3 separate regions of the Homo sapiens genome follow, and all the other regions are linked to region 1. The links are contacts of gene promoters, found by promoter capture Hi-C in human tissues and cell types (Jung and others, 2019). All regions are on one chromosome and are shown on one strand. The core of a region is centred on a gene start or on the middle of the fragment in contact, and the rest is flanking DNA. Distances in the headings are between cores, read along the strand shown. Region 1 holds the start of PRKG2 (protein kinase cGMP-dependent 2). Region 2 has its middle 30 kb from the start of BMP3. Region 3 has its middle 120 kb from the start of RASGEF1B.

Region 1 (4,283 bases), core at 1,174-3,673:
ATTGTACACTCTAAGTTGGCAGAGATCACAAGTTAATTTTGTTCACCATTGAATTCTAAGTATTTAGCACTGGGCCTGAGATGCAGGAGCTGCTGAAAGCACATTTGTTGAAAGACTGAATTAAAAGCTCAAAAAGTGGTCACTTTCCTTCTCTTCCTCCGTTTCCTTGTTCAGCATGGTAGAGTTGTAGATTTGACAGAGCATAGGATTGCTGGGAGGGAACTTAGGTTCCCCCTCAAACTCTTCCTAGCTGGGTGACCCTGGGCAACAGCCTGCACTGCATCGACAGCTTTCAAGCTTTTACCTCAATGAACGGTAAGAAAGTACATATGACCCAGTTGACCCAGTGTGCGTGCATACTCTGCTATTTTTTATTCTATTTGGTATCATTTTAAAAATGCTGGCTTTGACCCAGTACATCAATTTTATAATCCATTAATTAGCAACCCATTGTTTAAAAAAGCCCAGGACTCAATGAAATGTAAGGACTTTGCAGCATTATTCACAATAGCAAAATCATGGAGTCAACCTACGTGTCCATTAAGGGGTGATTGGATTTATAAATGTGGTTTTATATTATATATATACACATATATATATATATATATATATACAAAATATATACACACACACTATGGTGGTATACACACACATACACTGTGTACCTATCACCTGAAAAACTGGGAAAATTTTTTTTTGATTCAGGGGTACTACACACACACACACACACACACACACACACACACACACACAATGGAATACTACCCAGCCACAAAAACAATGAAATCATATCTTTTGCAGCAACATGGATGGAACTAGAGGCCATTATCCTAAGTGAAATTACTCAGAAACAAAGTCAAAAACTGCAGAATCTCTTATAAGTGGCAGCTAAACAATGGGCAGGCATGAGTATCCAGAATGGAATAACAGACACTGGGGACTCCAATAGGTGGGAGGGTGGGAGGTGGGTGAGGTAGGAATTACAACTTATTAGGTACAGTGCACATTATTAGGGTAATAGGTGCGCTAAAAGCCCAGACCTCACCACTATGTGTTATGTCCGTGTAATGCGACTGCACTTGTACCCCTGAATCTGAAATTTTTTTTTAAAGTGAAGACTTTGAAAATCTGTTTTTCTCCTTTTTGTCATTAAATCGCTAATAAAAATTCAGCCCATCAACTTAAAAGTCCATTATTACAGTGACATACAATTACTTATTTTCTCTTTTCTTGTGGAATTCTTCCTCACTCCTTTCTCCTCTAATTTTTTTTTTTTTGAGGTCTTTATAAAATGTACAGACTCTGGGATAGCTTCATGAAAAGGTACTTTGTGTACTTTCGCGATTTTCCTCCAGTTAGCACAAAAACAAACAGGACTATATTCCTCCTCCTCTGAAACTTAATGGTCTCATTCAACATATTTTACATGGGCCTCATTTTTAATATAAGTTTATGTATGTAACAGTGTATACAAATGTTACATGAGCCCCACTGCCACCATGTGGTTTAAAAACCCAAGAGAGTTGGTTGTAACATTCTCTAGATGCACAGTGAGGAATAGACCCTCACTATACTTTCCATCTCTCAACACAGAAACTGCCCTTGTCCTCCGTGAATTTGCTGGTGAAATTCCTCTGGGGGCAGAAGGAAAGGGAAAAAGCCACATGGAGATCTCACAACTCCAGAGCACAGCAAATAATGCGGTGGGGTGTACATATATATTTAGGAAACCATATTGCACCCTTCAGGAAAAAAAAATGTACTCAAAAGGTGACGAGAGAGCATTATCTTCTTGGGTGATCAAGAAAGCTCCCTTCCCAAAGACCTGCAGATTCGGAAGGTATAATCTCTGTCCCTCGAAACTCGATTCAACCCCTGCCCCCAGCATCACGTGAACTGGCAAACTAGATGTAAGTTATGGCCCCAGAGTCCGGGAGGGGCGCGTCGACGAGCTGCTTCGGGGTCACATGTCTTCGTAGAAAGGCATTGGTGTGACAGAGGAGGGCATGTCCAGGGTACGTGCGCCTGTTTGAGCTCTGGGAGGGAAGGCGAAGTGGAGAGAGCCTGCAGTGAAAACAGACTGGAAGGATGGAGGAAAGGGAGGGGAAGGAAAAAATGAACACCTCCCTGAACTTTCCTCTCCCCTCGTCCCACACACTTGAAATAGAAATAATAACATGAACAAAAATGCTTACAACCACGATGTTATCGCCCTACTTAAGTTGCCTCACTATGGAGGGTATGGGGTATAAAGTGCAGACTGCGGCTGTGTCGGGAGTAAAGGTTCGGGCTAGTGTGCGTGCGGGCGCGGGTGACCCCACCTTTAGGGAAGCCGGCGCCCAACTATCCAGGCAGTAGCCCCGGCTGACCCCCTCCCTCCTCCTTCCCTCCTCTCTTCCCTCCCTCCCTGCGTGTCTCCTCTGCACCGGCCCCCGCCGCGGAGCCAGGCGGCAGCACCGACGCCGCCGCAGCTCCTGCCCGCATCGCGCTAACCCGCGCCCCCGGCTCACACGTAGCCGGAGCGACTGAGCCGGCAGCCCCGGGCCCACGCTGCGCACCGTGTGCACGGCGGGGCTGGCTGAGCTGACCTGCGCTGGGCTCCGGCGCCGCAGGCGGCTGGGGAGGGCGGCGTGGGAGAGGACGCTGAGACGCAGGGGCGGCCGCGCCGAGGTGACAAGCTGCGCACCTGGAAAGTTACCCGGCTGTCTGGTGAGGTTCGTGGGCCGGGGGTCTTGGGCGCCGGGGTGTGAGGGCGCGCGGGGAGGGACGGGGTCGGGGTGCGCGCGTGTGCATGCTGTGAATGCGTTGCGCGATGTGCGCCTCTATTCCACACCCAGCCGGTCTCTTGCTTGTGCTGTTCGAGTGTGGACGTGTGTACGCGTTGCATTCGCTCGGTGTGGCAGCGTTTCGTGAGCTCCTGGAGGCAGGGAAAGGCTACTTGTGTTTAGAGGTTCTGTTGAGGGCGGGAGGGGCTCAGCCCCAGTGGGGAGTCCTCAGGGTTCTCTAGGTTTAGCGAGGAGAAGCGGTGGAGGCTGTTGCTCCGAGCTAGGGGCTTGGCGGTGCTGTCAGGGCTTGCGCTCCCGGCTTTGCTTCGTCGAGCTCTGGGTAGTTGCTAGGGGACAGTCCTCAGGCAAGGACTTTTAGGAGTCCTGGTAAACTTGTGTGGGTGTCCTTTTGTCACTCTGGGCACCGTGAGGCGCTTTCATATTTCTGTATTTCTCGGTGATGAAGAAACAAGAGCAAACAAAGCCCAGAAACCAGCCACTTTGGGGATGAGAAAAAAAGAAATAGGTTCAGTTCTGAGAAGAACTACGGTGCAACTACGAAGCAGCTGAGGCCAGAGCTGACAATAAAAGCAACGCATGCAGAATTAGTAGGTAGGAAGGGTGACGCTGGGACAAATGCCTTGATTTCCTGATCTTCATCTTGTTCCCCAAGTTCCCAGGGGCTTTTTCCTTCTTCTTCTTCTCCTTCTTTTTTTTTTTTTTTTTAAGGAAGAGAGCAACATACACCTGCCCCCACCCCACCACACCCCCATATTTAGAGTTTCTTAGAAATTGTCTCTTTTCTTTGCAAGTTTCTATTTAACTCATGAAGAAGGCGATCATCCCACATAACATACACTAGCTGTTTTCAGTACTCCTGTTTAGTTTTGCACAGGAGGGTATGAGCTAATATGGTAGAGAATTCTCTATGGAGAATTAGAGTGCATCCTCTCCGTTGGAACGCTGTATGACTAAGAATAAACGACCTGAAAAGATGATGCCCAGGGATCTTTCTCTTTTACGTGAAATCCTTAACTCCAGTTCTATGAAGTCATTACAAGTGAGGCTAATGAGAATTCACCTCACAGTGAAGGCATATGTTGCCTGGCTGTTGCCCAAGTCCTGTGATCCCTTATTGTCTTGCTTCCTCTAGGCTATTTTTCCTATGAATTATCTCTTCTTCTCCCATGTTTTCGTTTTTCATATCTCCTGTGCTTCATTATCCTGGAGCTACAGACATTTTCAAATTTTCATTATTTTAAAAATCCCTCACATGAATCATGATATCGTCTTGCAGGCTCTACTCTTAGTGTCAGCTCTTTCCATGGTCCCTTGTAGTTGAGTGTCTATCCCCACTCTTTGACAAATCAGATTCAGCACTTTTCTCTCTGATCTCATTTGCTGTGACAGGCCTGTGGGATGTGAGGTACAGCCTGCTCACCTCTTAAGGATCTTATCTGCATGGCCTTTCTGATGCTTCTCCTAAATCTCTTATTGGTACACGTGTTCCTTCTCCTT
Region 2 (4,283 bases), core at 998-3,497, 150 kb after region 1:
CTAGAGGCTACTGAGCCTTCTCTCAAATTCGAATTTTATTCCAGAAAGCTGCAAAAGAAATAATACTAACAAAGTCCAAGATTCTTTAAGATTTTTTATGTAAGTAAAATATGACATTTTAATCTAAATCAATATACTCATGTTTAGACGATTTCTTCCTTATTCTCAAAGCTTGAGGTTATTTTCTCATAGGCAGTTCAAAAAAATGTTGCAGAGGAGTCTGCTTGCTACAAGACAGAAATCTCATTCATCTAATGTTAAATTATAGATCTCAGTTCTGTAACTAGTTCAAGTGGGATAGAATTTAAAGTCTACCCCATTACACTGTGAAAGAAGAAATGGGAACTGCTGATGACATTAGAAGCAAAGGGACTTTGAAATGCTCTCAGCCTATCCTATCACACCTGAAGCCTCTCTTTATAATATGCTGCTATTCCTTGGATGTGTTAGAAGGTGGCTTTCAAATCAAATGAAGCAGAAAGCAGAGCTCCAAGGGGCCGGTTTTGACACACACACTCCCTAGCTAGGCAGGTCATCTACCTCTGCATTACAAAATCATCTGAAGATTACTAACAGTTCCAAGCTTCCATGTATTATCACCAGCCTATGGGCACTGGCTTCCATTCAGTATTTGTCTATGTGACTGTTTCAGCTGCCAAATTTTTGATATTATACCATTAATTTTTTCATTTCTAATAAATGAGATAATTTAGTGAAATCACATATTCTAGGCCCATTTTAAAAAACCCACTTATGTTCATGTGTGTATATGTCAGTGTTTATAGTGATGGAAAATCTCCAGAAAACAGGGCTGAAGTCCTGTAAACACCAAATGTTTTCCTTAAGTGAGTTCGTTTTGGGGAATGCTCTTTCACATGATTCTTGCACATAATTGCCTCACCTCTGGACTGCTGCATTCACATCTGGCCTGAGCCCCCATGAAGTGGGGGTTGGTTTTCATTGCAACTTGGTGGTAGTTTGCCTATGTGCTGAATCTGAAAAGGTTCAGCATAATATTTTGAGCAAAGGGTTGGATCATGACCATATTTCTCTCCCTGCTTCTGTGATGTTCTAGTAGAGCTAGGCATTTCTCTCTCGGTTTCTTTCCCTTTCTTCCTCCCTCCTTCCCCCATCCCCAGTTCCCAGTTGTGAGCAGGTTGGAATGAAGGGAACATGAGGAAGAAACACCTGCTACCCGCTGATTTAACTTTTTCTAGGACATGTGTGTGTATGTGTGTGTGTATGCGGTGTGTGTGTCTGAGTATAGGGCTGGGATCAAGGGAATAAGGGGAAGAAAACACCTGCTACTCTCTGATTTAACATTTTCTGGGATTGGATTTTTTTTATTGCCCTCAAGGCAGTATTTTGATGAAACAAAAAGAAATGAGGAATAAACTCAAATCAAGTTGCCACCAACTAAAATTGAGCAGGCAGGGTAAAAATAATGCTTCTCAGGTATTCTGACCTTGTTAATTATCAACAGAGTAGCCTCCAACTGTCTTGCAAAATAGAGTTCTCTTTCTCTATGGGAGGTATCTCAAATACTCAGACAACTATGGCCTTGGACTTGAAGCAAACCAAAGATGGATTTTCTTTCCACATCCTCTGATGGACCTAGAGAAAATAGGCATGGTACACAAGGCAGGGAAATTCATACCAAAAAATGAAAATAAAACAAATCCCAACTACCTAAAATGATTACTGTATATAGTGTTTGCTTAAGTTTCATAACTTATGTTTATTTTAATTTTAAAAAGATAAGAGACAGTTCATATCACAAGATATGTTAGGCAAGTCACTTTTACCCCATTTCTCATTTTCCTCTAAAGGGCGCTCAACTTCCACCCCACTGGCTAAGAGAAAACAGTGCTGGGAGATACTTCTTGTTTTTTTCTTCCTCCTCTCATGGCTCTTCCCCATGGGAGAAGGAGCAATGATCCTACCGATGACAGGGTAAAAGCTGGTGGTTTGACCATTGGTTCATATTTTTAGTGGGGCCATGTTAAGATTTAAAGTTTAAGTCACCTGTGCTGTTGTTCTTTTGGCGTGTAGGGAAGGCCAGAATTTCCTGTTTAGTGGCATTGTGGAGATGAAGGGGAGGCTCTTATTAGTATACTACCTCTATTCTCCTTAGACAGGAACAGGAATTCCTTTGTACTCTCTGGGTGGAAACGGTGTTGAAGTAATATTTTCTGCTCTTGTCCCTATCCTTTCTCTTTAAGGGGAGAGACATATCTGATTGACGATGAGAAGAAATGGGAACTGAGAGTACACAGTTCAGCCTCACTTTGACTTTCCCTTTTTCAGAATTTATTTACTCAAAATGCACATTTTTCCATTTTCCAAAAATTCAACTCACTGAGACCATCTCTGTACCACCCGGGTTGACCTGAAATTGGGTGGGGAAGTTCAACTCAGGGGAAAGTTCTCAGATCCCAACACTAATCAAACATTACCCCATTATTAAAACTTTTTTTTGCTTTCTTTATGATGCGATAGTCTATTTTCCTCAAATTTCTCAGGACTCCAAGGAAAGATGGGTGAAATTACTCTGGCAGCTTTCTTTAAGTAGAGGCAACTGAGGTGAAGTGCAAAAGAATAGGACAATTGGGGTGAGATTATCGCTGCTGGAATCCCAGCCCTGATGCTACTAGCATGGTTCTGACCTAAGGTGTGTCAGTTATTCTCCTGGGTCAGTAAAGTGAGGATAATACGCACCAATACTTCTCAGGGTCAAATGAGGACTCATTCATGGAAGTGTATAAAATGCATTTAAAAAAATCAAAAAGCAAATTTCGAAGAATATTTACTTTGTGCTATGAACATTTATAAGTGTTTCATGTATAAAGGCTCAAGTAATTTTCACAGCCCTGTAAGGCAGGCTCTGTGTTTTGTTCTCATTTTACACATGAGGACATGGAAACAGAAAGAAGCTTAATAACTTGTCCAAGGTCCTACAGTAAGTGACAGAGTTGAGATTCTAACGTAAATTGTCTGCCTGTAAGCCTGTATCTATGAAATACAATATGCATAAAAATAAACTTTCATATACCAGAAATACACATATATAATATTTTAGTCTATTTTCTACAATTCATTTGGCTTTGTTTTTCGTTAAGGTATTAGATGCCTTAGTTATTTGTTAAAATATAGTAAGACAAATAATATCACCTACTTTTTATTATTAAAGTAAGAGGAAGAATGCTGTAAATAAAATGTAGGTATGAAAAGTAGAAGAGTCTCACAAACCCCATCACATGATAGAAGTGAGATAGAATCAACAATCTCCTAAGTTGAGGGACGGATGATCTATTACCCTGGTCCTTTCTTGTGTTCTCTCTTTCCCTTCCATCGTGACTTTTGTTGTTGCTTTTTTTCCCAAGACATGATCAGGAGAAAAATATTTATAAGTTGTGATTTAATATGGATGTTTGACTCATGGATTCTGGTATACTAGAGCAAAAAGGAATTTTTAACCACCACCTGGAGAAAATTAGGACATGTAAGAGGTGAAGGAACTTAGGAAAGTGCTCAAGCCCAGAGCTTAGCATTGCCATAGATTCTGATGTTGCTTCAAATGCAATTGAAAAAAACAAATATAACCCAAATTAAAATTTAAATATCATATTGTGAGAACATCCACTTTTTGTGAACAAAAGAGTATGAAGGGAAGGCTCACGGGGTTCTCACATTTTGTATGTTGTGGATGTAAATATATATAACTCTGTAACATTGTGCTTTTCCTATGTGAATATATTTTCATTTTACTGGTTGATATTCACTTGTTAATAGTTACATATAGCTAACTTCCAGTTCTGAGACTGCAGACAATGTAGGCATTAATGCTTTATATCATCAAGCACATCTCTACCCACTAAAATAGAGTTTTGTATGATGTGAGCAATCCTTGGTAATACTAAGTGGATGTGTGCTCAACGTTCTTATTCTTAACCTTAATTCCCACCATACCTTCTAATAGCTACAAAGATCAATTCTAAGTGGTATTTCAAGACAATCCTCTGGCATGAGAACTGAGGCAACTCTTTTGAAAGTATTCATTAGTCACAAAACTGGCTACCCTGAAAGTATGATGATTCCATCAATATTCCTCAAAGGCATACATCACTCTGCTACTAACTGAAAGAACCAGAATTCAAACTCAAGGTGGTATTATCTCAAGGAAGATGCTCTCTCCATAATGTTACAAAGAATTCTAATACCAGTTTTTCCAGTTGCTAGTCTTATGCAATTGGGCATACTTACTCCAGTATATCATAGTCAAT
Region 3 (4,283 bases), core at 1,288-3,787, 140 kb before region 1:
ACTTTGGGAACTTGTTTTTAAATACAGATGCCCAGACTTCAATGGCAGATATTCTCACTTAGTAGATCTGGGGAGGGGTGGAATATGCTCTGAGAAATATTGCCTAGTCCATGGATAGATTAACCTTGTATGATTGAGTAACTGCTGGTTAATGATTGCTTAAATACACATTTCAAATGCATTTTTTCAGCAATTCTCTTTCGCCTGCATATAAATAAATATCAACAGACGTATTCAGGCACAAACACACACATGCCCTTTAGGAAAGAGTGAAGAGGAAATAAGGCATAGGATTGATAGTTGAATCAATGCTTTGGGACTCATGAATATATAGCTTCATGGAAAATGTCTCTGGGAAACCCTATAACCATTTCTGACTTTTACATGTAGGTGAAAGTTCCTTTCTTTATTATGATTAAATCATATGTTTATATGCTACAAATCAAGATTCCTTAGTTCCCTAGGTCCTTGTCTGTGGCAAAATCCAGGAAGGAGCCATGAATGGGAACTGTGGTGCTTCCATTTAGCAGGTGCTACCTGTTATGAGAATAAATTATAGATTTGATTCTCTAGAGTTTTCAGTGCAATGGATTTTACAAGAACAGAATACAAATTGTAACCCCAGTACTTCCCCATAATGGTCATCCTCATTGCAGGTGAAGAAAATACTTTTAAACTATACACCTGGGGTATGTGAACTCATAGAACTTGATTTAATTAGGAAAGATTTGAATAGACAAGGATAATATTTTTAACAGAAATGAACTCAAATAGCCACAGCTTACTCTATTTCATATATTTCTTTAAAATCTTTTTATTGAAATAAACATATACGTAGAAAAATGCATTTCACATCTTTGTGTTTACTCTCAGTTGCACAACTTCAGTTCTTTTAGAAACATAGAATACTTTAAAATATATTTCTTACTTGTAATGAAGTTTCAATGTGACCATGTAATAAACAGTTATAGAGGTCAGGTTGTATTTTGTAGATCATGCCATTTCCTTTTTTCTTTTTTTTAAATTTTAGATTCAGGGGGTACATGTGCAGGTTTGTTACATGGATGTATTGCATGATGCTGGGGTTTGAGCTTCAATTGAACTCATCATCCAAATACTGAACACAGTACCCAATAGGTATTATAGTTTTCCAACCCATGCCTCCCTCCCTGCTTCTCCTGTTGTGGGGTCCACAGTGTCTATTGTTCCCATCTTTATGTCTGCGCGTACCCAGTGTTTAGCTCCCACTTACAATAAAGAACATGTGGTATTTGGTTTTCCGTTTCTGCATTAATTTGCTTAGGATAATGGCCTTCTGCTGCATCCATGTTGCTGCAAAAAACAGGGGACAGGATTTCATTCTATTTTTACAGCTGCGTAGTATTCCGTCGTGCATAGGTACCACATTTTCTTTATCCAATCCACCGTGGATGGGCACCTGGGTTGATTCCACGTCTTTGCTACTGTGATAGTGCTGCAATAAAATGTGAGAGCAGGTATCTTTTTGGTAGAATGATTTATTTTCCTTTGGGCATATATGCAGTAATGGGATTGCTGAGTCAAATAGTAATTCTATTTTTAGTTCTTTGAGAAATATTCAGACTGTTTTTCCCAGAGGCTGATCTGATTTGCAACCCCCCTAGCAGGATATAAGCATTCTCCGCAACCTCACTAACATCTGTTATTTTGGACTTTTTAATAGCCATTATGACTGGTGTGATATGGTATCTCATTGTGGTTTTGATTTGCATTTCTCTGATGATTAGTGATGTTGAGCATTTTTTCATATATTTATTGGCCACCAGTCATGCCATTTACTGGTATTTTCTAGAAAGGTAGAGCACATTATTTGGCATTTTGCTATCTGATAAAGCTCCGAGAACAATCAGGCAAAATGTAAGTGAAGGAGGTCACAATTTTGAGGGTTCGAAGTGATAAACTTCTCAGGGCGAAAGTCAGGAAGAGCCCACAGGTTTCAAATTTATAAGTGATGAATAGGGCTGCAACAGCTCCTTTACCTCAAAGCTAAGCCTTAGAATGAGATCTATGACTATAAGACAGAAATCCAGGGTGATCCATGCCAAAGTGTTCTTAAATAAAAAGTAGAGACTCAAAGACTCATGGCATATGTAAACTGCAGGATTAATAAACATGTCTTCTCAACAAGAAATAAGTCAGCAAAATTGAAACCTTCTATCATGAAATGCAGCAAGTCACTTGGAGTTGAATAGTTGGCTGTGCCCCCCTCCTTTCCTTTCCTCCCATTCCCTTCCTGCCTTTCTTTCCGTCTTTCTTTCCTTCCTTGTTTTTCTCTCCCCTCTTCTCTCCTGTCTCCTCCACCCTTTCCTTCCCTTTTTTTTCAGCTCAGATTATTAATTTCTATGTGAACAACCTTAAACCACTTATATGGGAGAGACTATAGTCTAGATAAGCAAAGTAAGCCACTATTTAATCCTGAAATCCTATTGGAGAGGTCTTTTTAGAGCCTACATTATTTCTGGCCCCTCAGGGATATGTGTGAGAGTGAGAGAGGTTACAGGAGAGAGGTAACTTGGGAAAAGGATGAGGCCAGGCATTTTTAATCATCTTATGATGTCTACTGAGAGCTGGCTTATTTACCTGTCCTAAGGGTTCCCAAAGTTTTTATTCCTTTTGGCACTGAGCTCTACATACATCCAGAGTAATCGTAGAAGACCTGATTTGATCTAGATTCCAAGGATAGCCTTCAGACATCAACAGGAAATCTACACAAACTCTGTAATGCTTCAGAGCTGGTGCTGGGGCAAAAGACAGGTGTAGGAATCTACACAGGGGAGGACATGAATTCTCAGGTCACTTAACTCTGACTATAAACCCCAGTGGCTCACTGGTATTATCCAAAGCATTGCATTGTTTATTGGCTGTAAGGGGGTGGGACTTGGGACACTTATATATGGCATATTTCGATTTAACCACTTCCCAAACATGTTATGATAAAAATTGTTTTTTTTTTTTCAAAAAAAAAAAAGAGAAAAGATATCTAAGTGTTGTTCATCTCAAAACAGCCATCTCTCTGCCTGGACATAATTTCTGACACTGAAGCTAGACCTATTCCCCATTCACCAACCAAGCATTACCTTACACTGTGTTCTAATCCCCACCAGGACTCCAGCTGGTGCAGCAGAAAGGGATTAGCTTACTGACTAAGGGAAAAAAAAATAACCTTCTGTGGGACATAAAGCCATAGGTTTCAAACCTAGAGGATTCTTATATAATGCTGAGTGATTTGTGGATACGAAGGGGAAATTTTAAAATGTATTCCATCTTTAGTGCTCCTCATAACTGTTATGAATGAAAAAAATTCAGGCGCCCAGTGAAATGTTTTAAAATGTTCTCACTGGTTTCTTTGCTTTGATTACTTAATGGAAGTACTCATGCAACAGAATAAAAACACATAATAATGCAAGACATAATTATGACTTATAATTGCAATTATGAATCACTATTATGCATACATTTATGTGTCCCATATGCAGCTAATGGCTCTCTTTCAATGATACCCAGATACTTTTCTGCTGAATTAACACAAAGACATCTTGTATTTTTGTGGCTGAATTTCTTTTTAAAGTGTATTAACCCAATGGATTCTTTTAAAAATGTACATTAATTCACAGTTGTTAGGTGAGTTCCTAAAGGTCAGCTGCAGACTGATGATTTTATGACTATTCACAACCTGTGCTATTCCTCCTCATGATTCCTCAGATGAGTCTATGTCTTTAGGAACAAGTGGAGCTAGAAATAGTCTGGACACTAAAATGAATGTGGTACATTTAAGTGTCTATGTCATGTGTGTCCTTTTAAAACTGATAACATCTCTGAAGTTGCTAAATATATTTTTTGATTATTCACAATCTGAATCCAACAAGTATAAAAAGTTAAATATTATAAATTCAATAATTAAATGAAGCTTTTTATCAAACTGTTTTCTATCTCTTTAAGTGGGCCTAGCCTAGTAAGAGAAATTTTACAAAATTTTCAAATGTGTCAAATGCTAACCTTTGATTCTTGGCCCCAAGAATAGCTTTACCAATGTGTTTGCTCTGCATATTAGGACGGATTAGATAGCTTTGCATATGTTAAGTAAAAACACAGGGAAGTTAGGGGAATATTGGTAAACTCATAAAACTTATATGTTGATTTGTAGATGTATCTGCATCATCGGCTGAAAGTTTGTATTTCCCCAAATCCCTATGTTGTTCCCACTGTGATGTTATTAGGAGATGGTGCTTTTTGGAGGGAATTAG

Evidence for each region. Contacts are between HindIII fragments. The study calls those that stand out against the background at their distance.
Region 2: a fragment that was not itself captured here is called in contact with the fragment with the promoter of PRKG2 in region 1 in 1 of the 25 tissues and cell types used here (H1 embryonic stem cells).
Region 3: a fragment that was not itself captured here is called in contact with the fragment with the promoter of PRKG2 in region 1 in 1 of the 25 tissues and cell types used here (IMR-90 fibroblasts).

The regions. Positions count from the first base shown.
Region 1 is chr4:81,213,362-81,217,644 of GRCh38, reverse strand. PRKG2 (protein kinase cGMP-dependent 2) reads left to right here and starts at 2,423. Exons shown (of 19, transcript NM_006259.3): 1 at 2,423-2,709. It overlaps LOC124900726 (a long non-coding RNA gene), which reads right to left and starts at 2,759. Exons shown (of 2, transcript XR_007058162.1): 1 at 2,687-2,759; 2 at 1,421-2,080. RefSeq lists enhancers at 2,390-2,890, 2,891-3,391. The HindIII fragment of the contact is 9,769 bases long and covers 1-4,283 here.
Region 2 is chr4:81,058,755-81,063,037 of GRCh38, reverse strand. No RefSeq gene overlaps it. Among named protein-coding and RNA genes, the nearest start is that of BMP3, 30 kb to the right of the region's middle. The HindIII fragment of the contact is 3,739 bases long and covers 378-4,116 here.
Region 3 is chr4:81,354,192-81,358,474 of GRCh38, reverse strand. No RefSeq gene overlaps it. Among named protein-coding and RNA genes, the nearest start is that of RASGEF1B, 120 kb to the left of the region's middle. The HindIII fragment of the contact is 4,669 bases long and covers 203-4,283 here.